Regions from separate parts of the Homo sapiens genome. Here regions 2, 3, 4, 5, 6 and 7 are each linked to region 1. Evidence: promoter capture Hi-C in 16 types of primary human blood cells and fetal thymus (Javierre and others, 2016). All regions are on one chromosome and are shown on one strand. Each heading gives the region's core, a stretch centred on a gene start or on the middle of the fragment in contact. The rest is flanking DNA. Distances are from core to core; before and after follow the strand shown. Region 1 holds the start of PRRC2C (proline rich coiled-coil 2C). Region 2 holds the start of CACYBP (calcyclin binding protein). Region 3 holds the start of TIPRL (TOR signaling pathway regulator). Region 4 holds the start of SFT2D2 (SFT2 domain containing 2). Region 5 holds the start of DCAF6 (DDB1 and CUL4 associated factor 6). Region 6 holds the start of COP1 (COP1 E3 ubiquitin ligase). Region 7 overlaps RABGAP1L (RAB GTPase activating protein 1 like).

What was found. Contacts are between HindIII fragments. The CHiCAGO score rates a contact against its expected background, and 5 or more counts as called.
Region 2: a contact is called between a fragment that was not itself captured here and the fragment with the promoter of PRRC2C in region 1, in 4 of 17 cell types (total B cells, naive CD4 T cells, total CD8 T cells and 1 more). The highest score is 7.9, in total B cells.
Region 3: the fragment with the promoter of TIPRL here is called in contact with the fragment with the promoter of PRRC2C in region 1 in 2 of 17 cell types (total CD4 T cells and total B cells); the score reaches 5.3 in total CD4 T cells.
Region 4: a contact is called between the fragment with the promoter of SFT2D2 here and the fragment with the promoter of PRRC2C in region 1, in 1 of 17 cell types (fetal thymus). The highest score is 6.4, in fetal thymus.
Region 5: a contact is called between the fragment with the promoter of DCAF6 here and the fragment with the promoter of PRRC2C in region 1, in 2 of 17 cell types (monocytes and fetal thymus). The highest score is 7.3, in monocytes.
Region 6: a contact is called between the fragment with the promoter of COP1 here and the fragment with the promoter of PRRC2C in region 1, in 9 of 17 cell types (fetal thymus, naive CD4 T cells, naive B cells and 6 more). The highest score is 15.1, in fetal thymus.
Region 7: a contact is called between a fragment that was not itself captured here and the fragment with the promoter of PRRC2C in region 1, in 1 of 17 cell types (naive CD4 T cells). The highest score is 5.7, in naive CD4 T cells.

Annotation. Positions count from the first base shown.
Region 1 is chr1:171,483,712-171,487,722 of GRCh38, forward strand. PRRC2C (proline rich coiled-coil 2C) reads left to right here and starts at 1,819. Exons shown (of 35, transcript NM_001387844.1): 1 at 1,819-2,024. RefSeq lists enhancers at 1,408-1,717, 1,624-2,372. The HindIII fragment of the contact is 3,004 bases long and covers 1,625-4,011 here.
Region 2 is chr1:174,999,676-175,003,883 of GRCh38, forward strand. CACYBP (calcyclin binding protein) reads left to right here and starts at 272. Exons shown (of 6, transcript NM_014412.3): 1 at 272-520. The coding sequence starts at 506. RefSeq lists enhancers at 1-81, 1-142 and a silencer at 173-292. The HindIII fragment of the contact is 277 bases long and covers 2,563-2,839 here.
Region 3 is chr1:168,177,656-168,181,879 of GRCh38, forward strand. It overlaps TIPRL (TOR signaling pathway regulator), which reads left to right and starts at 1,307. Exons shown (of 7, transcript NM_152902.5): 1 at 1,307-1,526. The coding sequence starts at 1,423. RefSeq lists enhancers at 930-1,431, 1,419-1,538. The HindIII fragment of the contact is 4,299 bases long and covers 358-4,224 here.
Region 4 is chr1:168,223,415-168,227,366 of GRCh38, forward strand. SFT2D2 (SFT2 domain containing 2) reads left to right here and starts at 2,590. Exons shown (of 8, transcript NM_199344.3): 1 at 2,590-2,728. The coding sequence starts at 2,666. RefSeq lists a silencer at 2,257-2,886 and enhancers at 2,511-3,244, 3,547-3,626, 3,747-3,796. The HindIII fragment of the contact is 4,334 bases long and covers 1-3,402 here.
Region 5 is chr1:167,934,915-167,939,018 of GRCh38, forward strand. It overlaps DCAF6 (DDB1 and CUL4 associated factor 6), which reads left to right and starts at 1,769. Exons shown (of 22, transcript NM_001198956.2): 1 at 1,769-2,094. The coding sequence starts at 1,998. It overlaps MPC2 (mitochondrial pyruvate carrier 2), which reads right to left and starts at 2,158. Exons shown (of 6, transcript NM_001143674.4): 1 at 2,025-2,158; 2 at 819-984. The coding sequence starts at 927. RefSeq lists enhancers at 785-894, 1,345-1,654 and silencers at 1,065-1,234, 1,835-1,904, 1,935-2,174. The HindIII fragment of the contact is 3,362 bases long and covers 1-2,766 here.
Region 6 is chr1:176,205,027-176,209,023 of GRCh38, forward strand. It overlaps COP1 (COP1 E3 ubiquitin ligase), which reads right to left and starts at 2,260. Exons shown (of 20, transcript NM_022457.7): 1 at 1,546-2,260. The coding sequence starts at 1,952. COP1-DT (COP1 divergent transcript) reads left to right here and starts at 2,639. Exons shown (of 5, transcript NR_185981.1): 1 at 2,639-2,845. RefSeq lists silencers at 1,698-2,057, 2,088-2,297 and an enhancer at 2,798-2,867. The HindIII fragment of the contact is 7,879 bases long and covers 1,118-3,997 here.
Region 7 is chr1:174,963,071-174,966,851 of GRCh38, forward strand. The region is part of intron 20 of RABGAP1L (RAB GTPase activating protein 1 like); the gene reads left to right. Among named protein-coding and RNA genes, the nearest start is that of RABGAP1L-AS1, 11 kb to the left of the region's middle. The HindIII fragment of the contact is 1,425 bases long and covers 1,301-2,725 here.

The DNA.
Region 1 (4,011 bases), core at 569-3,068:
CACCACGCCCGGCTAATTTTTTTTTGTATTTTTTAGTAGAGACTGGGTTTCACCGTGTTAGCCAGGATGGTCTCGATCTCCTGACCTTGTGATCCGCCCGCCTCGGCCTCCCAAAGTGCTGGGATTACAGGCGTGAGCCACCGCGCCCGGCCATACGTGTCAGTCTTATGACCTTGGTTAATGTAATTTCATCTGATTGCTGAAGTTGTTCTCCATTGCTCAAGACAGATGATTTGGCTGGGCGTGGTGGCTCATGCCGGTAATTCCGGCACTTTGGGAGGCCAATGCGGGAGGCTTGCTTGAGCTCAGGAGTTCGAAACCAGCCCAGTCAACATAGCAAGACCTCGTCTCTACTGGCAAAAAAAAAAAAAAAAAAAAAAAAAAGCCAGGTTTTGTGGCAAGCACCTGTAGTCCCACCTACCTGGGAGGCTGAGACAGGTGGATTGCTTGAGCCTGGGAGGTTGAGGCTTCAGTGACCTGTGATTATGCCACTACACTCCAGCCTGGGCAGCAAAGTGAGACCCTGCCTCCAAAAAAACAAAGAAAGATGTTTCTGTGACCAGGACACTATAGACCAGATCCTAGAAGGTTGTAGAAATTCACTAAAGTAATGCTTCCTTGTCCTCTTGTGGATGATCAGTAGGCTTTCCCCTGGCAATGACCCTATATCAATAAAAAAACTTTTTCTTTTCTTCTTTTCTATTTTTTCGAGAAAGAGTCTCGCTGCAGCCTCAACCTCCTGTGCTCAAGTGATCCTTTTGCCTCCAGCCTCCCAGGTAGCTAGGACTATAAGCATGTGCCACTATGCCTAGCTAGCTTTTTTTCTTTTTAATTTTTTTGCAGAGGTAGGGTCTCACTATGTTGCCCAGATTGGTCTTGAACTCCTGGTCTCAAGCAATCCTTTTGCCTTGACCTACCAAAGTATTAGTATTACAGGCATGAGCCACCAAGCAAGTCCAGACTTTTCTACTTCAAATTAATATTAGTGGGGAGGGAGGTGTTCATAATTTACCTCTCTTTATTATTTCATTTATTCTAACATTGCTACAGTGACAATTCCATGGACATACACCAGCTACTGGCGGGGAAGATCGTTCAGACCAGAAGTGGTAAGAAATCCTTGAATTTTAAATATGTCATAGGTAGTTCACAAAGAGGACAAAAGATACCATTTACTAAACATTCGCCATCTGTTCTGACATAATATTATCATCATTGTAGTCTCCCACTTCCAGATACACTCATCTGCCTATGTTACACTTGCCTAGTAAAAGCCAGCATGGGTGAATCTTACTATTCAACGGAGCTGAACACTGTGATGGAGAGATCATATAAATAAACTGAATGGCTTATCTCACATCCATAATTAGAAACTTAAAAAGTGCTCTCAGCAGCCCATGCTACTCTGTTCCTCACACTAGTTTTACTTTCACTCTCTGTGATAACTTTTCAATACACCAAGACTTCTCAGCTTGCCCCAAATTCACTGAGACATACTGGCGAACTGCTGGTTCAACCATTTACACATCCACCCACCAGACATAAGAGTGCTCATTTCACTGAGGCTTATTATCAACTTGTAAACGTGGTCAATTCAAGACTTCTTAGAAAGGTCTCAGGTCCAAGCTTTGTCCTGAAAAGATAATTCTGATTGCAGAAACTCCCTCCGTCCAGCAGGAAGCGCCAGCACCCTCTGTCGGGGTTGGGCCGCCACGGAGGCTTCACGTGATCCGGCCGTCTCTGCGCAGGAGTGTGGTCTTGCGGAGATTTGACCTACGTACTTAGCGTCATGACGTAGTACGTAGGGGCTGGCTAGCCGCCATCTTGCTTCTTTTTCTCGCTCGCTCGCTCCCCCTCGGAAAGCTGCGAAAGTGCTTTGGCGGTTTGTCCATCCGCAGCTTCGGCTTTTCCAGTCTGGTGGCCCTTCCGGCCACCCCTTTAACCCCAGCTTTCCCTCCCCCTTCTTTCGATCAGAGATCGGCGGAGACCCTCGAAGTGCGCAAACTTGACACTCACCCTGACCGGTAAGGAAAGCGAGGGTGTGGGGGCCGCGATCAAAGAGGGCCCCATCGGGAACGGCCAGAGTGCGGCCTGGGGCGTGGGAGCGCACCCAGACCCTGGCGCCCGGAGGCTAGGGGGCCGCGTGGAGAGGGCCTTGGGTCCGGGCATTTCCCTTCTGTTTGGTTACCATCATCTCTGTGTCTGGGGAAGTCGGCCTCCAGCTTGGGGAGCGGGAAACCGGAGTCAGACCCGCCCCATGTGGTCTGCAGCGGGAGTTCTGGACCGGTCTGTCTTGCTCCCACCTAGACCCCAGTCCTGGCCCTGCGAGGGGATTACGCATGTTGCCGGGTAAGCGAAGGGGGTTTCCGTCTTCCTGGACTGGCGGACGTGAAGTCTTTTTTTTTTTTTTTTTTTTTTAGTGTCGGGTATGCGTTTCCCCAAACAACTGAAGGACTCAGCCGGGGCTTTCACTGTCTACCTCTTCCTGTGTAGTGAGGGTGGGACTTGCAATGAGCAATGTATGGGAGGGTCTGGTTTAAAGACCTGGTTAGATGAGAGGCTCTTCGGGGAATCAAGACCAACCCTACTTCCGCTAGGGAAGTGCTGCCCAACTCCGGAGGAGGATTTGGGTAGTCTTTTCACACTCTAGGCCGCTCCATCCTCTAACTTGCGTGGTGAATCTCGGTAGCTCCCTGTCTTTGAGATAGCGTTGATATTGGTGGTGTCAGGGTAAAGGCCCCGTTTTAGGACTGAAGAAAAGGGCATGGGGCCACTATAGAGACATTGATAGAGTCTTCCTTCCTTTGCATGAGAGGAGTACCTTTAATTTAAAGGGATGTATGTGTGTTTTGACATTATTTGGGATCTTTTGAGGGTCTGACATGCCTGATGTTTGCTGGCTTATAAAGCTACCTGGATTTCCGCATTGGCTGGTTTTCAGCCTGGGTTCATAGATTCATACCTCGTTAGAGTACTTAGAATTGTACAGTAGGCGGCTCTGCTGTAAGATTTTCATTTGGAATGCACCAGAAGAATCGGAGGATTTTTTGATTGTTGAGTACTTAATAGCTTACTCCTGCAAATAAAAATAATAGGGTGATACTAAGCACCTACCAAGCCTAACCCCACCATTTTTCAAAACTAGATTTCACCTCCCATATTGGTAATTAAGATGCTGCTTTGACTGGAGCCATTTTTAGGTGTGTGTCACAGATGCACTGCAGCATCTTTTCTGGCTCACCCCAAATGCATTGATCCCCTAAAAAATTAGGAATAAATTGAACTTGAATTTTGTCTTTAGCATGTAGTCAAATAGTAATTCTCTCCTTTTCTGTAAGTGGATTTTCAGAATATAGCCTTTTTAAGTGATTGTGTTTGCTCTGCTTAGCTTATGTGTGGCTGTTCTCCATTAGGTGACCTTTTGCTATACACTGAGCACAGTAATAAGTCCTTTTCATACATTTTTTTTTTAATCTCCACAACAGACCTTTGAGAAAAGTGCTATTAAGATCATCCCCATTTTACAGATGAGGAAATGAAATCTGAGAGAGTAGTCTGACCAAGGTCACATAGCAGTTATTGGTGGTATTGTGTAGGTTCAATTCCATACTGTCTGAACCCAAAGGGGATGCTCTAAACCTTCAACCTGCTTTTTAAATTATAAACTACAGTAACTAAATAAGATAAAGCATTATTAACTAGTAGTTTTTCTTTAGCTTGACTAGTATATGAATATTGTTGCATGCTAAGGTTAAAGTTTTGAAAGTTGTAAAAATGGAATATATCCACTTTGGACTTGGGGTAGAGGCTAATTTTTTTGTGTCCTTTTCTATTTGAGTGCTTAGAGATAACTTAAAACTAACTCTACCATGTCGTAGATATAATTTTTAAATTTAGGCGTCTGATCTATATTATTGGTAGAATATTCCCTCATCTGTAAAATGGTGATGATAATAGGACTTCCCTCAGAGGCTTTTATAGGAGTAAAAAAAGATAATGGATAATGTATGT
Region 2 (4,208 bases), core at 1,451-3,950, 3.5 Mb after region 1:
GACTCCGAAGATCGGTACGTTATTTCCGGGGCTGGGTTAACGCAGCGGTTCCGAGCTGCGACTGCGCAGCGTGGCCCAGCGCGGTCAAATTATAATACATAAAAGTTGTCAGGGCGGAGAGCAAGACATTACTCTTCTCGGATTGCCGGTTCGCTCGCGAGACTTGAGCGTTGCTAGGAGATTCGGCAGGCGGGCGGAGCCAGACTCGGCGGGGCGGGGAGGGGTGGGGCTAGGCTCGGCGAGGCGAGGAAGGGTGGGTGGAGCCAGGCTTGGCGGGCTGTGCGTGCTCGCGGTGGGCGGTGGCGGCGGCTGCCTCGCGAAGGTTCGAGATCCGTCGCGTGCGGGAGGCGGGCCGCGATCTTGCGCAGGGTCGGTGTGGGCGCAGGCTGCAGCGCCGCGACTCGTGCGGGTAGGCGTCTGCGCTCGGTTTGAGGGCTCGGCGCGGGGTTTCCTGTTCCTCCTTCTGCGCGGCTGCAGCTCGGGACTTCGGCCTGACCCAGCCCCCATGGCTTCAGAAGAGGTAAGTGGTCCGGCCCCATATTCCTTATGCCCCCCGGCTGGAGCTGCAGCGCCAGCCTCCCGCCCTACCGCCGTTTCCGTGGGCTGAGCCGCCCTGCGGCCACCCGGTCCCGCGCCAGTCAGTGCGCCGCCTTCCCGGGGGACACCTCACTCGCCCCTTGCTGCGCCGTCGGCTCCCCAGCGCTTCCACTCGACCTCGCACCCCACTCGCCTGCTGGGCTCGAGCGGGGGTGTGCGGCGATTATCCGTGCAGGCGGTGCGGGGAGTGGGTCTGGGAGAGCGGCCCTTTGCGCGTGTTCCTCAGGCCCTTTCTGCCCTGGTTTCCCAGCCAGTGGACAGGAAGCTTCATTCAAGCAAAGCTGGGTGCAAACATGAGTGTCGTTCTTGGTAGAGGGCGGTTGGAAGGTGAGTTCTCAGTGCTAGCACTTGAATTCTCCTAGTCAGGTTTTCTCTACACACGAGGAGCTGTGTTACTCTGGGCAAGTTGTTTAGCTTCTCTGTGTCGCAGTAGCATCCATTTCATAGGGTTGTTAAAAAATATGATTTCTAGGTGTTTAAGTCAGTGATTGGCAAACAGCAATCTGCTGTATGTGATTTTTAAAATAAATAACTTGGAAAGTTAGTTGTAATTAATAGTAAGAAAGCGAATGGCCTGTGTTAAAGCTCTGTAAACTCTGAACGTTGGAGAATTAAATTTTGTGGAGACTTAGTTTGCTCAGTTAGAAAATGGGAATGATAGTACTTGTATTGCTCATTTCCTGGCGTAAGTGGGAGGTGAAGACGGGACAGTTATTCACAGTTAAGTGTTGGGTGTGTATTAACTAGATTTGCTTTATGAAAACAAGTACTGGGGAGTCCCAAGCTTTTGTTTTGTTTTGTTTTTGTTTTTTAAACTCAAAATCTTTTCTTTAAATGAAGAAAAACTATGAGGTTTGTGTGTTCCAGTATTAATCTGGGTATCTTGTGACAAGTCTTTTAAGGTAGGTCTTGGGTACTATGTGCCCCTAGGAGATAACTTCACAGTCTTGCAGGTGGATAGCTCAGTGTTAGTCCTCTTGAAAGTAGAGATCGTTCTCAGTTTAGGCACTTAGAAATATACATTTGAGGGCACTTGATTTTTGTTTTGTTTGAGATAAAATTCAAGTTTTTAACCATTTTAAAGTGTACAATTCAGGTATTTGTTTTTTGTTTAAATATATTCACAGTGTAGTGCAGCCATCACCACTGTCTAGTTTCAGGACATTTTCATCACTCCAGAAAGAAACCATGTAGTGTGTTTTAAACAATTGCTTCCCATTCCTCCCTCAGCCCCTGACAACTACTCATCTTGTACTTTCTGTGAATTTGCCTATTGTAGGCATTTCATATAAATGGAGTCACGCTGTATGTGGCCTTTTGTTTTTTGGCTCCTTCAACTTAGCACTAACATTTTCAAGTTCATCCATGGTGTAGCGTGTATCAGTACACATGCTCTTTATGGCTAAATAATATTCTATTATATGCATGTGGCACATTGTGTTTATCCTTTCATCCGTTTATGGACATTTATTTCCACTTCTTTGTTTGAGACGGAGTCTCGCTCTGTCGCCCAGGCTGGAGTGCAATGGCGCAATCTCGGCTCACTGCAATCTCCGTCTCCCGGGTTCAAAGGATTCTCCTGCCTTAGCCTCCTGAGAAGCTGGGATTACAGGCGCGCGCCACCATGCCCGGCTAATTTTTGTATTTTTAGTAGCGACGGGGTTTCACCACGTTGGCCAGGCTGGTCTCGAACTCCTGATCTCAAGTGATCCGCCCGCCCGCCTCGGCCTCTGAAAGTGCTGGGATTACAGGTGTGAGCCATGGCGCCTGGCCTTATTTCCACTTCGTGACTAGCATAAATAATGCTGCTGCGAGTACTGTATCCAAGTTTTTTGTGTGGATGTGTTTTCAGTTCTCTGGGGTATATACCTAGGAGTGGAATTACTGGTTCATATGGTAACTTTCTGAGAAACTGTTAGACTGTTTCCAGAGTGGTTGCATCATATTCCTGTAAGAAATGTTTGAAGCTTCTGAAAGTTTCTCCACATCATTATCAACATTTGTTATTTTCTGGGGTGTTTTATTTTTCTTTTTCGGTTTATGATACCATCCTACTGGGTGTGAAGTGGCATCTTGGGAATTTGATATGCGTTTACCCAATGATGAAGATGTTGAGCATCTTTAATGTTCTTGGTGTCCATTTCTGTGTCTTTGGAGAAATGTGTGTTGAATTCCTTTGCCCATTTTTGAGGCACATTGGTGTTAATGCCTCCTAGTGAAAAATTAGGAAATAGGAAGATAAAGCTTGAATGCCTTATGGGTAGGGATAAAAGAGAAATAAAATTTTTATATACGTAAAACAAACACATGCCAAGAAGGCAAGGAAAATTACATGATAAATTAGATAGGAAACTAGGACATCTTAAAGTATTTGTGCAGAAAAAGCATCAAAGGAATCACCTTTGTTGGTTTCAAGTCTGCCAATAACAGAACTGAGGAACTGTCTCAGTTTTAAGTTTTTTCAGTGGATACTTCATAATAAAAAGAGTACTTTAGAGTCAAAACTGGCAATAAAGAGGGCTTGGGAATTCAGCCATTGGGGGAATCCCTTGCCTAATTCGAAGTACCTTTCTCATTCTGCTAGATAAAGTATTCCTATTTCAGTCAAAAAGCAAAACCTCTTGCTTAGACTTAATATATTTCATTTTACATTTCAATATTTTTATTATGAATTAGGAGTTGTAGAATCAGCGTTTTTTTGAAACCATTACAATAAAAATATTACTTTGAACTGAAACATTTTGGTTCTATGCTCAAAAGATGAGTTTGCAAGATTTTTTGTCATAGTAATATGAGCTGTTCTTGGAAGGGTCGAGAGTGTGGACAAGAGGGTTGGGCAGAGTTGATTTTTTTTTTTTTTTGGGAGACCGAGTTTTGCTCTTGTTGCCCGGGCTGGAGTGCAATGGCGCGATCTCGGGTCACTGCAACCTTTGCCTCCCGGGTTCAAGCGATTCTTCTGCCTCAGCTTCCCGAGTAGCTGGGATTACAGGCACGTGCCACCACACCCGGCAAATTTTTGAATTTTAAGTAGAGACGGGCTTTCGCCGTGTTGGTCATGTTGGTCTCGAACCCCTAACCTCAAGTGATCCACCCGCTTTGGCCTCCCAAAGTACTGGGATTACAGGTGTGAGCCACTGCACCTGGCCAGAGTTGAACTTTTTATACCATGTCATCTGTTATAGATAGGCAAAACTAGGGCATCTGAGTTAAATGAGATAACAAAAGACTTGTAGTAAAAGAAAAGAATTAGTTCTGTTATTGCATTTTATAAGACTATTAAGAAACAGGCTTTCAAACTCTGTTGTGCGTCTGATATTCTGAGTTATAAAGCACTAAAAGACTTTTTTAAATTGAGCTTTTGATATCAAGCTGTGACACAAGATTTTTTTGGTCAAGTTGGTAGTGTCAAGCCAGAGTGTAAAGTTATTGTAAGAAAAGTGAAACAGCTGTTTGGAAAGATCTTGTGTATTTGCAGTATGTCAGAGGGTAATTGGGGGAAAAAAAACTTAGGCTCAATAATTTTCTAACATTGTCTTTAACTCTTGAATTTCATAAAATGTTGCCTCTATCTCTAGAAAGTAGAAAGTAGTAGACTTTAATAGATGATGGAT
Region 3 (4,224 bases), core at 57-2,556, 3.3 Mb before region 1:
GGTGGTCCACCCACCTTGGCCTCCCAAAGTGCTGGGATTACAGTCTTGAGCCACTGCACCTGGCCTGTGTTTTTATTTGTTTTTGAGACAGGGTCTCGCTCACCCAGGCATGAGTGCTGTGGCATGATCATGGCTCAATGCAGCCTCTGAGGCTCAAGAGATCCTCCCACCACAGCCTCTCAAGTGGCCTGGGACTACAGGCAGATACCATCATACACAGCTAATTAACACGGTTTGTAGAGATGAGGGCTTACTCTGGTGCCCACGCTGGTCTCAAATTCCTGGACTCAAGCAATCCTCTCACCTAGGCCTCCCAAGATGCTGGGATTATAGGCAGGAGCCACCTCGCCTGACTAAAGCTTAAATCTTTCAACAGATTGCCGATCAGAAAATCTTTGAATCCACCTATGATCTGTAAGCCTCTCCTTCAAGACATCCCACTTCCTTAGCCTGAACCAATGTATATCTTCCATATATTGACTTATTTTACCTGCAATTCCCAACTCCCTAAAATGTATAAAACAAAGAGTAATGCCACCGCTTCAGATGCTCTTTGTTAGGACCTCTTGGGACTATTCCCTGGGCCATGGTCACTCATATTGGTTCAGAATAAATCTCTTTAAAACCTTTTACAGAATTTGTTTTTTTTCCATTAACAAAATCATCTCATTTTGAGGCAACTGAAGCCTAAAATCGTTAGAGAAGCGCTTTGCCCAAGGATTCACACAATAGTGTTGCAAATGGAGATTTAGCACTAAGTCAGCTGTGTTGTTTTCACTATACTGGGTGCCTACATAGCAACTAGACCATGGAAAGTCTTCGCATATCTACGAGGATGCAATTTTTGATAGGAGTTGGTCATAGTCAAGAGTGGCTAGATGGCCACTTCTAAATCTTGTTGGTGCTGGATTTCCTAAACTCTGTGGGATTACTTCTTTTTTTGACCTCAAAACAGAAAAATTTCCTCTGTAACACGATTCACTAACACATGAGGTAATCACACTGCTTTGAGGTCTGTAAGGATCAAGTTGGAACCGTCATCCCCTTCCCTGGCAGTCCCTAAAATCCTTCGAGATGACGTCACCCAACGAGTTCAAGAGGGCGGTGCGTTCCTAACCACACCTTCTGCAACCCAAGTGCCGCCCCTCTGACTTTCTCCTTTTTCCTTTTTTCCGGAACGCCGGAACGTAAGACGTGGGTCACGCAACAAGAGCAACTAGTCCCGGAAGCAAAAAGCAAAGAGGCGGAGAAGAAGACGGGAAGCAGAGCCCGCGTCCGGGTCGGCCGGCAGGGGGCGGGGCCGGGCATGGTAACGGCTCGGAAGCCTAGGAGGCTGGGCCGGAGGGAGGCGGAGGAACCGGTGTTCGCCGCCGCCGCTGCTTCAGCTTATTCCTTGTGGCCTCTGCGGGTCCTGCCTCAGCCATGATGATCCACGGCTTCCAGAGCAGCCACCGGGATTTCTGCTTCGGGCCCTGGAAGCTGACGGCGTCCAAGACCCACATCATGAAGTCGGCGGATGTGGAGAAGTGAGGCTTCGGGGCACGGGGTCTGGGCGCTGGCCGGTTGCTGGCCCAGGGCGGGAGGCAGGGCGAACTCTGTGCAGCCCCTCCCCTTTTCCCTGAGGCGGAGGTTCGGTCCCTCCGGACCGGACCTTTGATTGACAACTTCGATAAATAATCCAGTCACACTTCCGGGCCCTTTGGTTGGGGATCGCCAGGCGCTGCTTTCGTCAACTGTCAATCCGCCTGGGTTTGAGTAGAGTGTGACTGTTCTGGTGGACTTTCCCCTCACCAAACGTCTCCTCCTGCCTCAGCCTGCACCACCTTTCTTTCTGGGTGGCTGTTGCCTGTTTTCTTAGGGGTTAATGACGGGGATGATTTATAAGTTTGGTTTCTGTCACGTCAGGTGCTGTGCCCGGCGCTTGAGATAGGAAATGTAAAAGACAACGTGCGCCTCAATTCACAGTCTCGTGAGAGAGACAGACAATTATATTACAGCGTGAATAAATGTAATGAAGATGTATACACGGAGTGATGTGAGGTCTTTTAGGGGCTCGAACCATCTGGGAAATTGGGATGCCTGAACTGAATCTTTATAAAACCGTTGCGGGGGGCGGTGGATAGGTACATGCCATCAGGTCAGGCAGAGTGAGTTGTGATGCGTTTTTGATGCCTGGGCTGAATCTTGACAAAATTTAGGGGAATCAGGGGACGCATGTAAAGCTGGGGGCTCAGGGAGAGTGAAAGCTGTGATGTGTTTAAAGAGCTGTGTCCGTGTGATTGGAGCGTGAGGTACCATAGGGGGTGTTGTGAGAGATGAGAGGTAGGCCCCAGGGGAATCAAGATACTGAGGGAATTTTTATGCCTGGCTAAGGAGTTTTCAATTTTATCTGACAACCACTGGGTGTAATTTTATCCAAAGGAGCTGCATTATCAGATGTACGCTCTGAAAGATTTCTCTGGAGGCCATGTTGAGGCTGGATTGCAGGTCCGCAGGGATGGGAAGGAGACCAGTTAGTAAGAGAAAAGATAGGTTTTAGAAGATTAAGTCCCTGGGATGGCCAGCTGATGGGAGGAGAAATAAAAAAGGAAGAGTCTATGCTGATGACAAGATCTCTGGCTTGGATTTTTGCATGTATCGTATGCCTTTGAACAAGATGAGAAGCACAGGAGGAGGAGAAGCAGATGGGGGCAGGGTGTTGGTTAGAGGATGAGTTTAGTTTATTGAAATGTGAGGTGGGTATAGGTCATAAAGTGAAGATGTGTAGTAGGCATTTAGATATATTTATCTTGGAGCTCAAAAAAGATAACGTCTGTGGGTTTAAGTTTGGGAATTATCTGCTTATATTTGGTACCTGGAGCTTTGGGAATGAATTAAGGTATCTAGAAGTCATCCAGAGGAAAAGGTCATAAAATAGAACCCTAAGTGAGTACTTGCATTTTAAGATTTGAGCAGAGGGAGTGACCAGGGAAGAGAGGAAAGTAATGAAACGATGTTTGCTTCCTAATTCAAGAAAATAAGTGGTAATATTCTAGTAGACTCACTGAAAAAAATTAGGAAAATACAGAAAAGAAAGGAAAAAAATTTCCCTTCATCCCACCAGAAATTGAATTACTTTTTTGAGTTTTTCCTCTCTATATCTTTCTTTTCTTTTTTTTTTATAACTTTTTTTTTTTTTTTGTATTTTTAGTAGAGACGGAGTTTCTGCATTTTGCTCAGGCTGGTCTCGAACTCCTGACCTCAGGTGATCTGTCCGCCTTGGCCCCCCAAAGTGCCGGGATTACAGGCATGAGCCACTGCGCCCAGCCTTGTATAACTTTTATTTATTTTTTATTTTGTTTTTTTGAGACAGAGACTCACTCTGTCGCCCAGGCTGGAGTGCAGTGGCACAGTCTCAGCTCACTGCAGCCTCCGCCTTCCAGGTTCAAGTGATTCTCCTGCCTTAGACTCCCTGGTAGCTGAGACTACAGGCGCGTGCCACCACGCCTGGCTAATTTTTGTATTTTTATTTATTTATTTATTTTTAATTTTCTTTTCTTTTCTTTTTTTCTTATTCTTTCTTTCTATTTTTATTTTGAGATGGAGTTTCACTTGTTGCCCAGGCTGGAGTGCAATGGCGCCATCTCGGCTCACTGTAACCTCCACCTCCTGGGTTCAAGCGATTCTCCTGCCCAGCCTCCCAAGTAGCTGGGATTACAGGCATGCATCACCACGCCCAGCTAATTTTGTATTTTTAGTAGAGATGGGGTTTCACCATGTTGGTCAGGCTGGTCTTGAGCTCCTGACCTCAGATGATCCACCTGCCCTCGGCCTCCCAAAGTGCTGGGATTACAGGCATAAGCCACCGCACCCGGCCTCCTCTCCATATAACTTTCTGTGACAAATTGCCGATTGGTGCAAAAGTAATTGCGGTTTTTAATTGCAAAACCGCAATTACTTTTGCACCAACATAATACAATATATAATTATATTATATATAAAGCAGTCAGCTTCAAACTGGGGCCCCCATGTAATTTACTTACAGATTCTCTAAGCGATGGCTGTATACATGGAGAGTTTTAAGGGAATAAAATTCCATATCTACGATCTCCTTATGTATTATTTTAAAAACAAATTTGCCTGAGGCCGGGTGCGGTGACTCACTCCTGTAATCCCAGCACTTTGGGAGGCTGAGGCAGGCGGATCACCTGAGGTCAGGAGTTCAAGACCTGCCTGGACAACATG
Region 4 (3,952 bases), core at 1,340-3,839, 3.3 Mb before region 1:
CAGGACTATGCTCCCTCTGGAGGCTCTAGGGGAGAATCCTTTCCTTGCCTCTTCCAGCTTCTAGTGGCTACTGGCATTCCTTGGCTTGTGGCTGCATCACTCCCATCTCTGCCTCTGTGGTCACAGTGCCTTCTCCTCTTCTGTTGGTGTCAAATCTCCCTCTGCTTCCCTCTTATAAGGATATACATGATTGCATTTATGGCTCACCTGGATAATTGTGCATAATCTATTTTAAGATCCTTAATTACCTGCACAAAATACCACCCCCACTCCACTTTTCACTGTCTAAGGTAACATGTACACTTTCCAGAGATTAGGACATGGGTATCTTTTGGGGAACATTTTTCAGTTTACCACACTGTGGGAGATGTTAAGCAGGGCAACAAATGAGTCAGACTTATGTTTACAAAGATCCTTCAAGGGATGGTGTGGCACAGTCAGAAAAAACCTTCTGAAGACATTGATTAAACCTTCCTCATTCTTCTGTGTTTAATGACTACTTAGTATTCTTGTGAATGAATGTACCATAATTTATTTAAGCACTTCCCTCATTTATGAACTTTTAAGTTGTTTCCAATTTTTTTCTATTACAAACAATGCTACAATGAATCACCTTGTAATGGGCCAATTGCACAATGTGCAAATATAAATGTAGGTAAATCAGGAGCCCATATTCTGGGTTCAGACTCAGACACATTGGAGAAAGATAAGAGTGGATGCCTGTTACATTTTACAATAGATAATATTAATGGATTGTGAAATATATACTGAGCACTGTTCTAAGCATTTTTGAAATGGCTTTATTGCAATAGAATTCATATGCCATACAGTTAATTCAAAGCATACAATTCAATGGTTTTTAGTATGTTCAGAGCTGTGCATGCAACCATTACCACAATCTAATTCCAGAACATTTAAATCACCCCATTAGTCTCTTACTACCATTTCCCCTCCTCCATCCCTAGGCAACCATTAGTCTACTTTCTGTTTCTATGGGTTTGCCTATTCTGGACATTTCCTATAAATGAAATCATACAATATATGGTCTATTGTGTCTAGCTTCTGTGAAAGGGAAATATCTTGGGCCCCCCCAAATTACTAAAGGGAAAATTCAAGCTGGGAACTGCTTAGAACAAATCTGCCTCTCATTCTATTCAAAGTTATCACTGTGTTCACTGAGATAAATGCACATCTGATTGCCTCCTTTGGAAAGGCTAATCAAAAACTCAAAGGAGTGCAACCATTTGTCTCTCACCTATCTGTGACTTGGAAGCCCCCTCCCCCCTTGAGTCTTCCTGCCTTTGCTTCGAGTTGTCCCGCCTTTCCAAACACAACCAATGTACTTCTTACACATATTGACGGATGCCTCATGTCTCCCTAAAATGTATAACACCAAGCTATGCCCCAACGACCTTGGGCACATGTCGTCAGGACTTCCTGAGTCTGTGTCACAGGTGCTGTTCCTCAACCTTGGCAAAATAAACTTCCTGGTTAACTGAGACCTGTCTCAAATTTTCGGGCTCCACACTTCTTTCACTTAATACAATGTTTTCGAGGTTCATCCACGTTGTAGCATGTGTCAGTACTCCATTCTTTTTTATTGCATGGGTATGTCACATTTTATTTACCATTAATCAGTTGGTGGCCATTTGTATTGTTTCCACTCTGTTGCCCAAGCTAGAGTGCAGTGGCTTACTGTACTGACAATCATGGCTTACTGCAGCCTTGACCTCCTGAGTCCAAGCCATTCTTCCTCCTCAGCCTCGCAAGTAGCTTGGATTACAGATGCCCGCCAGCATGCCTGGCTAATTTTTAAGAATGTTTTGAAGAGATGAGGTCTCCCTATGTTGCCCAGGCTGGTCTGGAACTCCCGGGCTCAAGCCATCTTCCCAAAGTGCTGGGAATACAGACATGAGCCACCATGCCCAGTCTACTTTTAGTTTTTTTAAGGTCAGAAAAAAAAACAATTGTACAAACACAAAACAATTTAACAATCTATTATTCCTTTCAACATTCCTTCAGTCACTTTTTTTTTTTTTTTTTTTGAGACAGAGTCTCGCTCTGTTGCCCATGCTGGAGTGCAGTATCCTGGTCATAGCTCATTACAGCCTGGAACTCCTTGGCTCAAGTGAGCCTCCTGCCTCAGCCTCCGGAGTAGCTGGGCTTCCAGGCACGCCCCACCACACCAGACTAAGGCCTTGAGTGATTAAAAAGAAAATCTTTTCCTGTGTAGGCACGATCGCAATATGGATGAACCACAGCCTTTGTTCCCGTCTGCACAAGGCTTCTCCCCCGTCTTTGTGTCTCCGGAGCCTTGCACGTGGTAGGTGCTCGGCATTCGTTGACTGGATCAAGTAGGGCGAGGGAGCGCGGCCCGTTCCGGTTTGAAACTGCTCTGGACGCCGAATTAGTGTTTGGCAGCGCCTGGTGGTCTTCAATCCCAGCCCCTCCGGCCCGCCGCGCCCCCCGGGACCAAAACAAGCGGAGGCGAGCGCGGGCGCGCGGGGCATGCCGGGAGCCCCCCGGTGGGCAGGTGCCTGGGCGGGGCGCGCCGCGGTTGGCGCCTGGGCGGCTGGGCGGCTGCCTAGCACCCGGAAGAGCCGTCAACTTAGCGAGCGCAACAGGCTGCCGCTGAGGAGCTGGAGCTGGTGGGGACTGGGCCGCAATGGACAAGCTGAAGAAGGTGCTGAGCGGGCAGGACACGGAGGACCGGAGCGGCCTGTCCGAGGTGAGTGAGCCCGGGGCCGTCGGCCCCCTCTCGCCGCGCTCCCGCCCTGCGTCCCCTGCCCGGGCCTGGGAAGCCTGCGGGGACTCCCTGGAGTTTCTGGACGGTAGCTCTGCCCCTTCTCCTCCTCTTCTTCTGCAGGGCTCCGCGAAGAGGTCTGGCACTACACGGGGCAGTGGCCGCGGCGTCCTTTTCTGCCCCGCGCCCCTTCAGCCCATCCTCCCTGACAAGGGGGCGGCGCAGGAGGAAATCCCCGGACTGAGCTGCGAGTGGGAGGGTGGGCGACTGGGCTGTCGGCCCCGGCCCCACCGGCCGGGGAATGCGCTTTAGGGCCGGGTAGGGCTGGGGGCCCCGAGGTCCAGGCGGAAGGAGCCTTTGCTGGGTGGGTCGGGGCCCCAGACCCGGACTGGGGTGTTGGGGTGGCGGTCCCTACCTCGCGACGGGGCTGGTGGCCGCGCCCCGAGCTCTGCCTTGGTTTTCTGTCCGGTTTAGGTTGTAGGGTGTGACACTCCCACCCGCCCCTGTACACATTGCCTTGTGATTGGGGGTGAGAAACTGCCCCCATCCCATGAGGACAGGGACCACATCTTGTGTCTCTGTCCACACTGCCCACAACTAGTCTCTAGACACCCAGCGCCTCAGGAGACTGCCTGCGTGTTGGTTTGTTTTATTAGAAAAGCTTTTTTTTCTTTTTTTCTGAGACAGAGTCTCACTCTGTCGCCCAGGCTGGAGTGCAGTGGCGCGATCTTGGCTCACTGCAGCCTCTGCCTCCTGGGTTCAAGCGATTCTCCCACCTCAGCCTCCCAAGTAGCTGGGATTACAGACACCCGCCATCAAACCCGGCTAATTTTTGTATTTTTACTAGAGACGAGGTTTCACCATCTTGGCCGGGCTGGTCTCGAACTCCTGACCTCAAGTGATCCGCCCACCTCTGCCTCCCAAAGTGCTGGGATTACAGGCATGAGCCACCGCGCCCGGCCTATTAGAAAAGTTTTGATCGTGCTGAAACCTGGCCACTAATGTCCTATGTTGTAGAACCACACAGAATGCTGCATTTCTATTTAGGGTGCTTTTAGCTTTTGTTTTCCTTTTTGGATGACAAAATAACGTTTCTCTTCGCTTTTTGGTGTATTCTTTAGCCTCCGTTCCCCATCTGTGAAATGAGGATGTTAAGATGATATGGCCAACTGGAAACTAATCAGTGTTTCTTCTGGTTTCTCAGCAAGT
Region 5 (4,104 bases), core at 519-3,018, 3.5 Mb before region 1:
ATCTTTCAGTTTCTTACAGTTTTTTTTTTCAACCACAAGAACACAGTTTTCCAGTAGGCAAAGAGAGATGTAACGTTTACTGAGCATTTACAAAGAGTCAAGCACATATGTTATCTGTCATTCTCATAGACCGCGTATTACACAAACAGAGATCTAGGCTTTTGCTCAAGGTCACAACTATAAGTGGTAGAAGAGAATGATATCCAGGTCTGTCCACACAAAAAGCTCTGGGTAGAGCTTGTTCAACAATTTCATAAATAAGGATAGACTTAAAAAAACACACTGGACCTATGGGATGAGAAATGACACTGACTCAAGCCTGGATGAAGTAAAGCATGCAGTTTGGGGGAGGGCTCAGTCTGCAGGCCTCTGCCAGCAGCAGCTGAAGAAAGTGACCTTTACTCCAAACCCTACAGTGCGACAAACCACCCATCCAGCTCTGCCTAGAGTGGGTTAATATGCCACAATTCGAAAAGAGAAAGAGAATGAGTGTTTCATGGTGGCCCCAGACAGTTTGGTGGCCGCAGAAGTTGAGAAGGCTCAAATCTGGAGATCAGGTTTGGGTTGGAGTCGTGCGTAAGGGAGCGGATGTCACATAGGTGGGGAAGGGAGCTGACTTGAGATACGTTGGCTTAGGAAGAGATGTTGCAGGAGAGAGGGTGAAATGCACAGGCTAGGAGAGTAGACGGCTTCACTTGAAGGGAAGGGATTGGGGCTGTGGATGCCTCTAGAGGCAGTTGTCAGAGGGCCTCTAAAAGGTCCATTTTAGAGGAAGCGAGAAGGAAGGTCTCGATAAGGAGCCATTCAGGGTCCATTACCTGCTGGATGGTTGTACAACGGCCTCAATTTCTCGGGCAGCATCAGCTCCACTTTATCGAGGAGCCGGTGGTAGGTGGCCCGCAGGCCTCGGGCACCGGCGGCCGACATCGCCGCCGAGGGATCGTTGGCAGCCGGGTGGGAGCGTGGCTGTGTTCTCGTCCCTGGCTGACAACGAAGGGGAGCTAGTCACTTTTCCTGCCACGACGACTCGCGTCCGCCTCTCGCCTGGAGTACCCTTCCCGCGGCTTTCCCTGCCCGCTGTGAACCGAAAAGCTGCGGCCCGCGCCCCGCGAAGGTTGAGGGGGCGGAGGCTGCCGACTGCCAGCCCCCGGTCCGCCTCCGGCCCCCGGCAGGAGAGAGGGAGGAGCCATGGCAACAGGTGCCAAAATAATCACCTCACCAAGTCTGCGCTGCGCCCTGCTGGCAGCGCGCTTGCGCAGGCCGAGCTGCCCGCCATGATTGGCCCGCCCCGAGGCGCGGGCGGGGTCGAGCGGAAACCTCCTCCTTCTCCCCATGCCCTCGAGGCCATGTTGGAGAAGGGAAAGTGAAGCTGCGCTGGTTCTACTGCCCTTTCACTTTGATTAAGCAGGCCCGTAGTTAAAATGGGTTTTTGGGCCTTCAGTGCCTAAAGATGATGCCGCACAATTCTCTTGCTTCTTTTCACTGGAGACTCGTGAGCGAGAGACTACAGAATTGAGTAGCTTCTCTCTCTACTCGTCTTTTATCCCTAGCGACTTAAGGATCTGGTTAGAGTGGCCCGAATGCATTCTTCCAGGGTGAGGGCAGCCGCAGCACACACCAGCCTCAGTCCCCAGGGTGGTCGTCATCTCGCGAGAAAGGGTTGGCGGGGAGGGTATCCAGGACGAGGAGAGGGAGGAGTCGCCATCGCCTCCGCCTCCGCCTCCTCCTGTTGGAGGGGGGCTGAGGGAGGAGACTGTTGCTGATCTTTGGATGTTCTGGTTAGTCTAAGAAGGAGAGTATGAGGCGAGCTCCGGCCCGGGTGCGGCCGGGCTTCAGGGGCCCAGGCGCCGCTGCTGCCACCGCCATCTAACGCTGCGCCCTGGAGGCCCGGCGCGCGGATGGTGCCGGTGCGGCTCGGGTGTTGAAACGGGTGTCCCCTCCCCCTCCTCCCCTCCCCCACGCGGTGGTCTCCCCTCCCACCCGGCTCAGGCAGAGCCATGTCTCGGGGTGGCTCCTACCCACACCTGTTGTGGGACGTGAGGAAAAGGTCCCTCGGGCTGGAGGACCCGTCCCGGCTGCGGAGTCGCTACCTGGGTGAGCGGGGGCCCCGGGGCGGAGGCGCTGAGGTCGCCGCCTAGAGTGGGGGAGGGGGCACGCTGCCGGGTCTGTTGGAGGTGGGACGGCGTCTCGGTGGGGGCGCCCGGAGACTCTGGGGTGTTGGGTGGGGCCTTGGTTGCCGAATTCCGTGCCGGTGCCTCCCCCAGTCAAGCCCCCTGTGCATGCTGCCAGCCGCCGCCCTTGCTGGGTTTTTCTCGGAGGGCCGGGCCGTGGGCAGAAGGTACTGGCTTGTAAAGGTGTTGGGGTCGCTGATGGGTTGGGACTCGGGAGACTTGCGGAACCTCCAGGAGCTGCCGCGTTTAGAGCAAAAGTTAGCTCTTTTGCTCTTTTCCAGCGCGCTTTCCCCGCTCAGCCGAAGAACCTAAGTTGTTGCCCACCCTCTCCTTCAATCTCCAGAGGGTTTAGGTGTCGGCTGCGACGCGTTGACCACCCTCAGGGACTTCACGCTCCAGACAGAATCCGTGTAAACTGTTTTTGCGGCGCTGAGCCAAAACCTAAAAGTGATAGCTGAGCTCTCCCCACCCCCGCGCGCTCTCCCAGTTCCACTCTGCTCTTCAGTTCGTTTTGACCGCTTAAAGGTGGTGTAGGGTTTCACGTTCCTCTTCCCACCCCTGGAAAACACACTTGGCATTTACAGTTTCGTAGTTAAGCTTTCTAAAAACAACCTTCAGTACTTGGGGGAACAGTATTCCACTTTTTTCGTTTTGCATAACATTTTTTTTTTGAGGATTCTAGGTCACGCCCGAGTCAACTAAAAAGTTTGGTTTCTTAAAAATGGACGTACTTAGTAAAGGTCTTTTTTGTTTCTTCCTGTATACTCTTCATTACTCTTTCTTTCTATTTGGAGATACGGCAAACAACATCATAAAATTTTTTTCTTTCCAGTTTTGCCACTTGCTAGTTAAAAAGTGTTTGTTGCTCTCATTTGTTTTTGATTTCAAGTAAAGAGAAGAAAATGAAATCTCATTACAACCAACAGTTCTGGTTTGTAAATTATTTAAGAAAAGTTAGCATGCAATTTTTTAATTCTTTTTAGTGTCTCAAGTAAAATACGAATACATTTTGTTTATAAAAACTCAATAAAAATGAAGCAAAAATCCCTTTGATCCCTCCCATTCAATTTCACTCCGCCACCCTTAGAAATAATATTTTCTGTTTTCTGAATATTCTTCCAGACCTTTTTGTTTGCATTCTTACAAGTACATATGTACATGTACAAATGCTGGGGTGTGTGTGTGTTTGTGTGTGTATGAGAGAGACACCTGAGTGCATGGTGTCATATTGTAAACATTGTTTTCACTTCTCCACATTTTGGAGATCTTTCCATGGCAGTAAAAATAGATTGATTCTGTCTTTTAAATTATTACATAGTAGGTAACATTATGAAGTACCATAGGGTACTCAACCTTTCTTCTTTAAGTAGACGTTCGCCCTTACAGCATTTTAATGAACATCATTCTACAAGCTTCTGTGCATTTGTTGTAGGATAAGTACCTAGAGTGGTGATTAATCATTTTAAAATTGAACATAGCTGGAGTCTGGTTTTTAAAACTATTTACCAAAAAAAGTGTGCAGTATTTCTTTTAGAATTTATTTGCGGAGAAAGAACTTAATTTTAGCTTAATAAAACAAACGTTAACATTGTTTTGCATGGATACATTTATAATTTGGTCCTTTATCTCAGTTGGACAGTTTAAGTACTTGTATATAGTTCTATATTTTAGTGTTTTCTTTTGGTTCAGTTACTTCAGCTATATCTACAAACGAGTTAATTAAAATATAACAAAACCATATACCTGCTTTTCCCCCTCCTACTCCAACTCCCTAATGGAAATGGAATTTGTGTATTGGGTCTAGGGGAATTGAAGGGTTCACTGACTATATTAGAAAGCCTGAATTACAGTTTTTCAAATGTGTATGTATACATACAGGGAGTTCTTTATCTTAAATAATATTTTAGATATGATAATATATACTCTTAAAATA
Region 6 (3,997 bases), core at 1,010-3,509, 4.7 Mb after region 1:
GTCATACAAGTATCTCTTGAATGACAATGATCGATTCCTTATTCCTCACATCTTTTACTTTATTTTAGTGTACTTACACGGAGGCTAACATGTTTGTGTTCGTTAAGTATACTAAAAATTAAAATGCAAACAGTGGCTAAAAAGACAACTAAATTATGCACACCCCACTTTGTTTTATTAGCTTATTAGCTACTCGCACTATCGACTGTGTAGAAGTGCAAACACTTCTCAGCCCCAACCATAAACTGCTTATTTATAAATAACAATCATATTACAGCCCAAATGTTCAATGAAAAACAGATTAATTCTGATAAAGAATAACGTACAAAAAAGCAGAAAGGTGAATAAAGACATCATTTTTCTGCAGGAACTAGAAACCGTAAGTCTAATCAATAACTTTCCTAACAGTTCCAACTTCTAGCTCTATCTTATTTAATAACACCAACTCAGACCATCTTCAACCCTGATCTGAATCAACTTCCCTCATAATGACTGTGCAAGCAGCCAACTTCCTACATGCCTAATATTTGATCAACAATTTCCTCAAAAAGGAAAGTACGAAACACTACCACTTCTTAAGCAGCTAGCTAACAGCAATTACTTCTCATAATCCTACCAATATCTAAAATCCAATAAAAATTCCAAAACACTCTCAAGCAAGACAATCAACACCACCTTTCACTTCATATGACTAACCTCTCTATCCCAAATGTCATGACTAAATGTTACTCTGTATCATTCAAGATGCCAACTATGACGACAAAATGTCTATACCTAGCATTTCTCAAGTCAGAAGTTCCAGTATACTCTGTTATCCAGTATAGTACAGTTACATCTGACACAGGGATGTTATTTAACAAACGTGGTTCTCTCTTTTCAAGACACTTGGTGGAGAAGTGAAAAATCTGTTAACAGACTTTGACTACAGTCGTCTCAACAGCCGATTCCTAAGTGGCCCATCCTTTGAAATGGAAGAAGATATTTACACATACATACGATAGGTACTTACATTATTATAAAAAGCATGTCTTTATAAGACATCCATGCTTATGTTTACAGCATCATCTACCATACTTCAAATAAATTTTGACCAACTCCACCCCTCTGCATCCGAGGAAGCTTAGTCCTCTCCATTTGCAAATTTCATTCATCTCAACAAGGACTCCTGATTGACTGAGTGTTCAATTCATCAGAGAGGCAAAAATTTTAAGACTCAACCTCTCTGCCAACTTTGTTATCCAAAACCATTTATTTGACCTTCCACCTCTTCCCTCGTCATTCGTTAAACTCCCTTCACTTCCTCCTCAGCAACACTTACCTACCTCTTTATTATCCCCACCCTGCCTCGCTACTCCAACATTCCTTCACCCCACCAACCAGGAGCTCGAATGCCTGCAAACGCTCGATTCCCTCTGCAGACACCACCACAGCACCAGTATCCCAAGCTCTCCAACAAGCCACCCCCACACCAGACCCCCCGCCCCCAAGCCTAAGCGGCAGAAACTCATAATTTAGGGACAAGGAGGGAGTGCTCTTCAAACCCACCATACGAAGTCGTTGCTTTTGTCCTCGTAGGAGTTGATGAGCCCGTTGCAGAGGGGGGCGAGGAGAGGTCGCTTCCTGCTGCCGCTGCCTAGGCTGGAGCTGCTGCCTCCTACGCCGGCGCTGGGCCTGGCCGCGCAGCTGTGCCGGGACAGGCCCGTGGACACCGCCCCGCCGCCGCTACCCGATACGGCGGGCGCCACCAACACAGGCCGCACCGGGCCCCCGAGGCCGCCCGAGCCGGCGGCCTGGGCCACCCCGCCGGACACCAGCGCTGCCGCCGAAACCGCCACGGAAGGCGGCGACGGGGAAGAGGATAAAGACGAGGAGGCGGAAGTCACCGAGGAGGCCGCCGAGGACCCGGGGCTTGTCCCAGCGGAGCCCGACCCGGCCTGGCGGCTACCAGACATCGTGACTCCCTCCCCTCCAGCCGGGCGCTCGGAGGAGAGGGACCGCGACCTCGACCCTCCGCCGCCTCCCCTCCCCTCAGCCTCAGTGCATCCTGAGGACGCCCGCCGAGCCGGAGGTGGGGCTGAGGAACAATAAAGTTGCGTTTTTTTTTAAGGCAGCCACACAACAGCGTCCCACGGGAGGGGGCGGAGGAAACTAAAAAAGCGGAGTAGAAGGCACTACCGCTGTCGAGGCCGCCGCCGCCACCGCGGTCCCTGTAGCAGCCAACCCCGGCGCGCCGTGGCCGGCCGTGCGCGCGCGCGCGAGCGGCGGAAGAGGCGGGCGTGGCGGGGGATACAACTGGGGACGCAGCGGGGCTGCGCTCAGACGCTCAGGGCGCGCCCTCGGGGTCGGGGCTCCCTGGCGAAGGGAGTCTGTCTGTCCCAAGCCGCTTTCGTTCCAGAAAACGTGCCAGAGGGCAGGCCGTCTTAATACAGTGAAAGAATTGAGGAGACTGGAATGAATGGTATAGGTGGTGGGGTGGTTTGAAAGACGGGAACGTAGCGGGCGGAAACTCTCGAAAAGCGACTGCGCAGGCGCGCGCCGGGCGCGGACGCTCACGGGTCACCCAGGGTATCCGCCCCAAGCGGAGAATATCGGCGCAAGCGCGGAGTAGCCGTGTCACGCATGCGTGCGAACGCACCACATTCCGGAACGGGAAGAAGGAGCTGTCTCTCTCTTCTGAGGGGTAGGCAGGTGCTTCCGAATCGCGGAATGTAGGTGCTCATAAGCTGGAGACCCACGGAAAGAACCTAGAAGCTCCGAGCGGTTGCAGACAGCACTGCATTGAGCCAACGACTCCTGCTCTACTGATGGTGATTCCACAGCTTTGTGAGGAATAAGTTAAGATGAAGTCAGTGAAGTTTTCTGCGAATTGCAAACATTGTAGCAAGTGTTACCAATTTTATTAGTTCGACCACGACTTCACTCCTATATTTTGAAAAGCTGTTTGCCAAATTGAACATAACAATAATGGGAAAACAGATTTTGCTCAATCAGACCCAGCTCAGTCGGAACCTAGGTTTATTGTGGATCTGATATAATTCTAGCACAAAACAAGGAAACCTAGCATTTAATACCACCAGAAAATATACAATTTCTGGTAGGCTTTTTTAGAATATTGAAAATTGATTATAGGCGGGCGCGGTGGCTCATGCCTGTCATCGCAGCACCTTGGGAGGCCTAGGGGGTCGGATCACCTGAGCCTGGAGGTGAGGATCAGGCTGAACCTGAGGTTAGAGACCAGCCTGGGCAAGATAGCGAAACCCCGTCTCTACAAAAAGTACAAAAAATTAGCTGGGCATGGTGGCAGCAGGCCTGTAGTCCCAGCTACTCGGGAGGCTGACATGGGAGGATTGCTTGAGCTGGGGAGGTTGAGGCTGTAGGGAGCGGAGATCCCTACACTCCAGCCTGTGAGACAGAGACCCTGTCTCAAAAAAAAAAATTTTTTTCATTTGCCGCATTCTAAGGGGTGGGAGTTAGAAACAACTGTGTGATTTTATCCTTTTCAATTCTATCATTCTATGATTCTTATATATTTATTTGGGAATAAAGTGTGAAAATACTCATGACTTAGTAAACTACGTGCGTATTCAAGGAGGTAAAGGAAGGCAAAGGTTTTTAAAATTTAAAAAAAAATGAGAATTACATAATTGTTTTTAAACCGTTATCCTTGGCTACGAAGATCAATAACAAGGTGACACCAGTCGGAAACTGGACAGGAAGTTGCTGGGCAGATGTTTTTGCGGAAGTATTTTTTGTGTAAGATTGTGGCTTTTGGCCAGGTGCGGTGGCTGAGGCCCATAATTCCAACACTTTGGGAGGCCAAGGCGAGTGGATCACCTGAGGTCAGGAGTTCGAGACCAGCCTGGCCAACATGACGAAACCCTGTCCCTACTAAAAATACAAAAATTAACCGGGTGTGGTGGCATGCACCTGTAATCCCAACTACTCGAGAGTGTGAGGCAGGAGAATCGCTTGAACCCAGAAAGCGGAGGTTGGAGTG
Region 7 (3,781 bases), core at 763-3,262, 3.5 Mb after region 1:
CCTGGGTGACAGAGCAAGACTCCGTCTCAAAAAAAAAAAAAATTTTTTTTCTGCCATAGCAAATAAACTTACATTTTATTATTTTTTCATATCCCAAAAACTGTGTTGGCTTTTGGAAATAGTATGTTATGAAATAATGTGCTTTTAAGGAATAGTAATAGACACAAGGATGGTTTATATATGCCTATGATAACTTAATGATAAACTTCAGAAGTCTTCCACTTTCTCTTTGAGCTTGGATAATCCAGAGAGTTCATTGTTATAGGATGGTGAAGATGCAAAACTAAATCCTTTTGGCTTCTCAAGCAATATAGCTAATAAGGAGTGGGCGATTTCTAACAATGCTGGTCTGCTAGAGTCCCTTATACTTAACCCTTGGGGGAAGAATATGCTTTAGGAACACTAAGAATTTCTAGTATGTTTACTGGTGATCTTCAGAGTTTTCAAGAAACTTTCATTAATTTTTAGAAAGTTTTCTTTTCTGTTTAAGTATTACTGAGAAAATTACCTGACACTAATATGTTTCTATATCATCTAGAATGCATCTGCTTTTTGAAAATTTGATTTGTGTACTAGAGTAGAGCAAGGATCTGCAGACTGTGGTTTATAGGCCAAATCTGGCTCACTGCCAGTTTTTGTAAACCAAGTTTTATTGGAACACAACCACACCTGTTTATTTATTTATAGTGTATGGCTGGTTTTGTATGACATTTGTAGAGTTGAGAAATTTCAACATAGACCATGCGACCTGCAAAGCCTAATATAGTTACTTTCTGGCAATTTACACTAGAAGTTTGCTGACCCCTGTGCAAGAGTATAACCTAAGATAGTTTTTTAAGCGCTGAAAGAAATGCAGTCTGTTTGGCCAGCTGTCATTTATCACTGACAAGATTTTGTTTTTAGTTTGACATTTAAAAATTTGAAATTTTCCACTACAAAGATAAAATTGGATGTGATGAGTAAAGGAGGGAAGCACAAAACCTTCAAATATCCATATTTTCTTTCTCAGATCTTCATTATGGACAACATAGATATTTAAACATTTTATCTGTAGGCATTTGAAAACTTGAATATGATAGCTGTCAACTCTTTTAAAAGAGGTATCCAAAAGAAAATATGTGAGAGTTGAGTGTGTTGTTGCTAATAAATTTGCACTGAGTCTTTTAGGAAAACATTTTCTCCTGACCCTTAAAAGTCTTTAAAAGCATGTGCCAAGAATTCATCATAGCAGCAGACAACACCCAAAATATTGAGCTAGGGTTTATAAAGCCGCCTCCCTCCTCGTCATTTTTTCCTTTAAAGCTTAGTTTCTTTACTTTTAATTAACAGTTCACATTTCTCTGGTTTCTCATCTTGAAATAAATGACGTTCACAATCCCTTGAACCGCTTCACCCAGACTTCAGCCCCCAGGTACACATGAGATCCAGGATCCATTTTTCTTTTGCATTGCCCTGCCCAGCAATTTCATTCTTTTGTCTGAAGATGAACTATTTTGCAAGATTTCTGACCTTGTCATATAAGGAAGTTCCTTCCACCCAGCTTTAACAACACAGTATCAACACCTCACACCGTAGTTCCTTAATAGTCCCACATACAGCATTTTAGTCATTCATGCAAACTGTAAACAGCAATGTGGAGAGGGAGGAGTTTGAAGATATGAGTCTTCCTGAGTTGAGACTTGCCCACTGGCTACCTCAAGTATCTTTGTTCCATTGAATGTTTGCGGTCACAGAGAGAACTTAGAGTTATATGACACTCAAAGGAAAAGCAAAAGAGCATTAAGAAGTGTCTGTTTTTGTTATTGCCATTTCATAAATATTTTAGTAGGTGTTCAATTTCATTGGATATTCTTTTTTTTTAATTGTCTTTGTACCTATGATTGAAAACAGTAGTTGGTCTATGACTTTTGAGGAGGTAAGTTTTTTTTTTAATCTATGTATGTCTGTAACATCAGTGTCTGTCTCTTTGAAAAATGCAGTATCCTCCTCCCAAAAGTTACTAACCAAACTTTCCCAGCTGTACATCTCCTATCCATAAGGGGTGAAACTATGAGGACAGTTGTTATCTGCTTTTTGTTCAAACGGTGTCAGTTGTGTGAGATGGGGAGTATATGTTTCAGACAGTGTGATGTGAGTTTTAAGAGTTATGTAAGCAGTGTCTCCTGTAATCTTTTCTGAAAGGCAAGAGGGAGCCAGTTTGCCTGTTTTGTTTACAGGCTTTGAGCATTTAGCACATCTGCTTGTGCAAACTTACAGCATGTGAATTTCTCTGGGCTGACTGAGGTTATTGGGGCTGACTTTAAGTCTGTCTTCCATGGGCAACCCTTGTCAACATTTCAAAATGAACCAAGCAGGGTTACTGCCTTTTCCAAGACCATCAAAACCAAACTCTCTTCTCCATTCTAGTATACAGGCAAACTTTTTCTAGAATTGGTCAGTATTGAAAACAGTTTTGGCTCCTTGAGAAGAACTGTAAAAGACAGCCACGTTAATATAAGCTCTGTTTAGCCCTCAGTAGGTAAGTGTGGGCAAGTTCTTTGTAGAAAATCTCCATCTCAGTAGCAGGGTCTCACTGTAGTGCTCAGTAGCACTCACCCTGGGTTCATACTTTGGAGGATGATACTGCATTTTTGGCCCCGTAGCTTGCTTTCCCACTTGTCTGTGAGTGCAGAGCAGGAGTCTGACACTTCCCACTGTGCTGCTTGCTTTGCAGACACTAAATTGAAGCTTCTTGCTAAAGCAAAAGCCAGTAGGCGTGCCCTCTAGGCTATTTTGCTTTGCAGGGACTCTGAGACACTCAGTTTCTCCCAAATCTTTTCCCACCCTTGCCCTTGCCCCTTTAGCTGTGTGTCTGTAAGGAAGGGTTTCAGTTGCAACAGTCATTGTAATGAGAAGTTACTAGTCAGAATTTCAGCTGAACTCACACCTCTTTCTTATATAACAGATAATCCATCAGACATTTATCTCTAATCAACAGTGAAGTAGCTACCTGGTATGATTTCTAAATACTTGAACAAAGTACTTTTCCATGAACATCCTATGACTTTACTTGGAGGTTACTTTAACTCAATTCTAAGCATGTAATTGTAACCTGAAAAACTGGTAGTGGCAACATTTTCACTTGTGCCAAATGAATGTAATGTACATAATAGTCGAGGGAGCTTTTTGTACTTTGGGGTTATACAAGTACAATTTCAATAGCAATAGGATACTTAACTCAGGAATACCTATTGAAGTAGTCTTATCTTAGTTTCTTGAAGATATTTATCAAGAAATGAGAAAAATCTCTTCCCTGGCTAAGCAGCCTGCATTGTGAAATATGTCATGTTGAAATTGTGCTGGTATTGTTACTCTTTCCTGGCTGGGAGGAAATTTATTGAAAAAGCTTCTCAAATCTTTTTTTTTAATCTAAGTTTCCTATATGTTTTTTTTCCATGAAAAGGAGTAATAGATATATCAGAAATAAAGGCTAACTCTCCAGCCCCTGCTAGAAATTGTGTTGCTTAGGCAAAGATTCAAAGATTTCATTGTAGAAGCTCTGGCTTTTTAGAAATTTGTTTTTTAGTCTCCACATTTATTATGCTTCTGTGGGAGGGTGTAACTTCTGTAGATTGAGGGGAACAGACAGAATCTGATGAGTACAAGTTGCCTCTACAAGAGCATTCACAGTCTTCTCAGGAACATCTAGGGAAAGAGTTCCTCACAAGGCACCACTTCTGAGGGGTTACATTATATCTTGGTCAAAAAGGAGGATCCAATATGGTTTTGTGTAGAATATGAC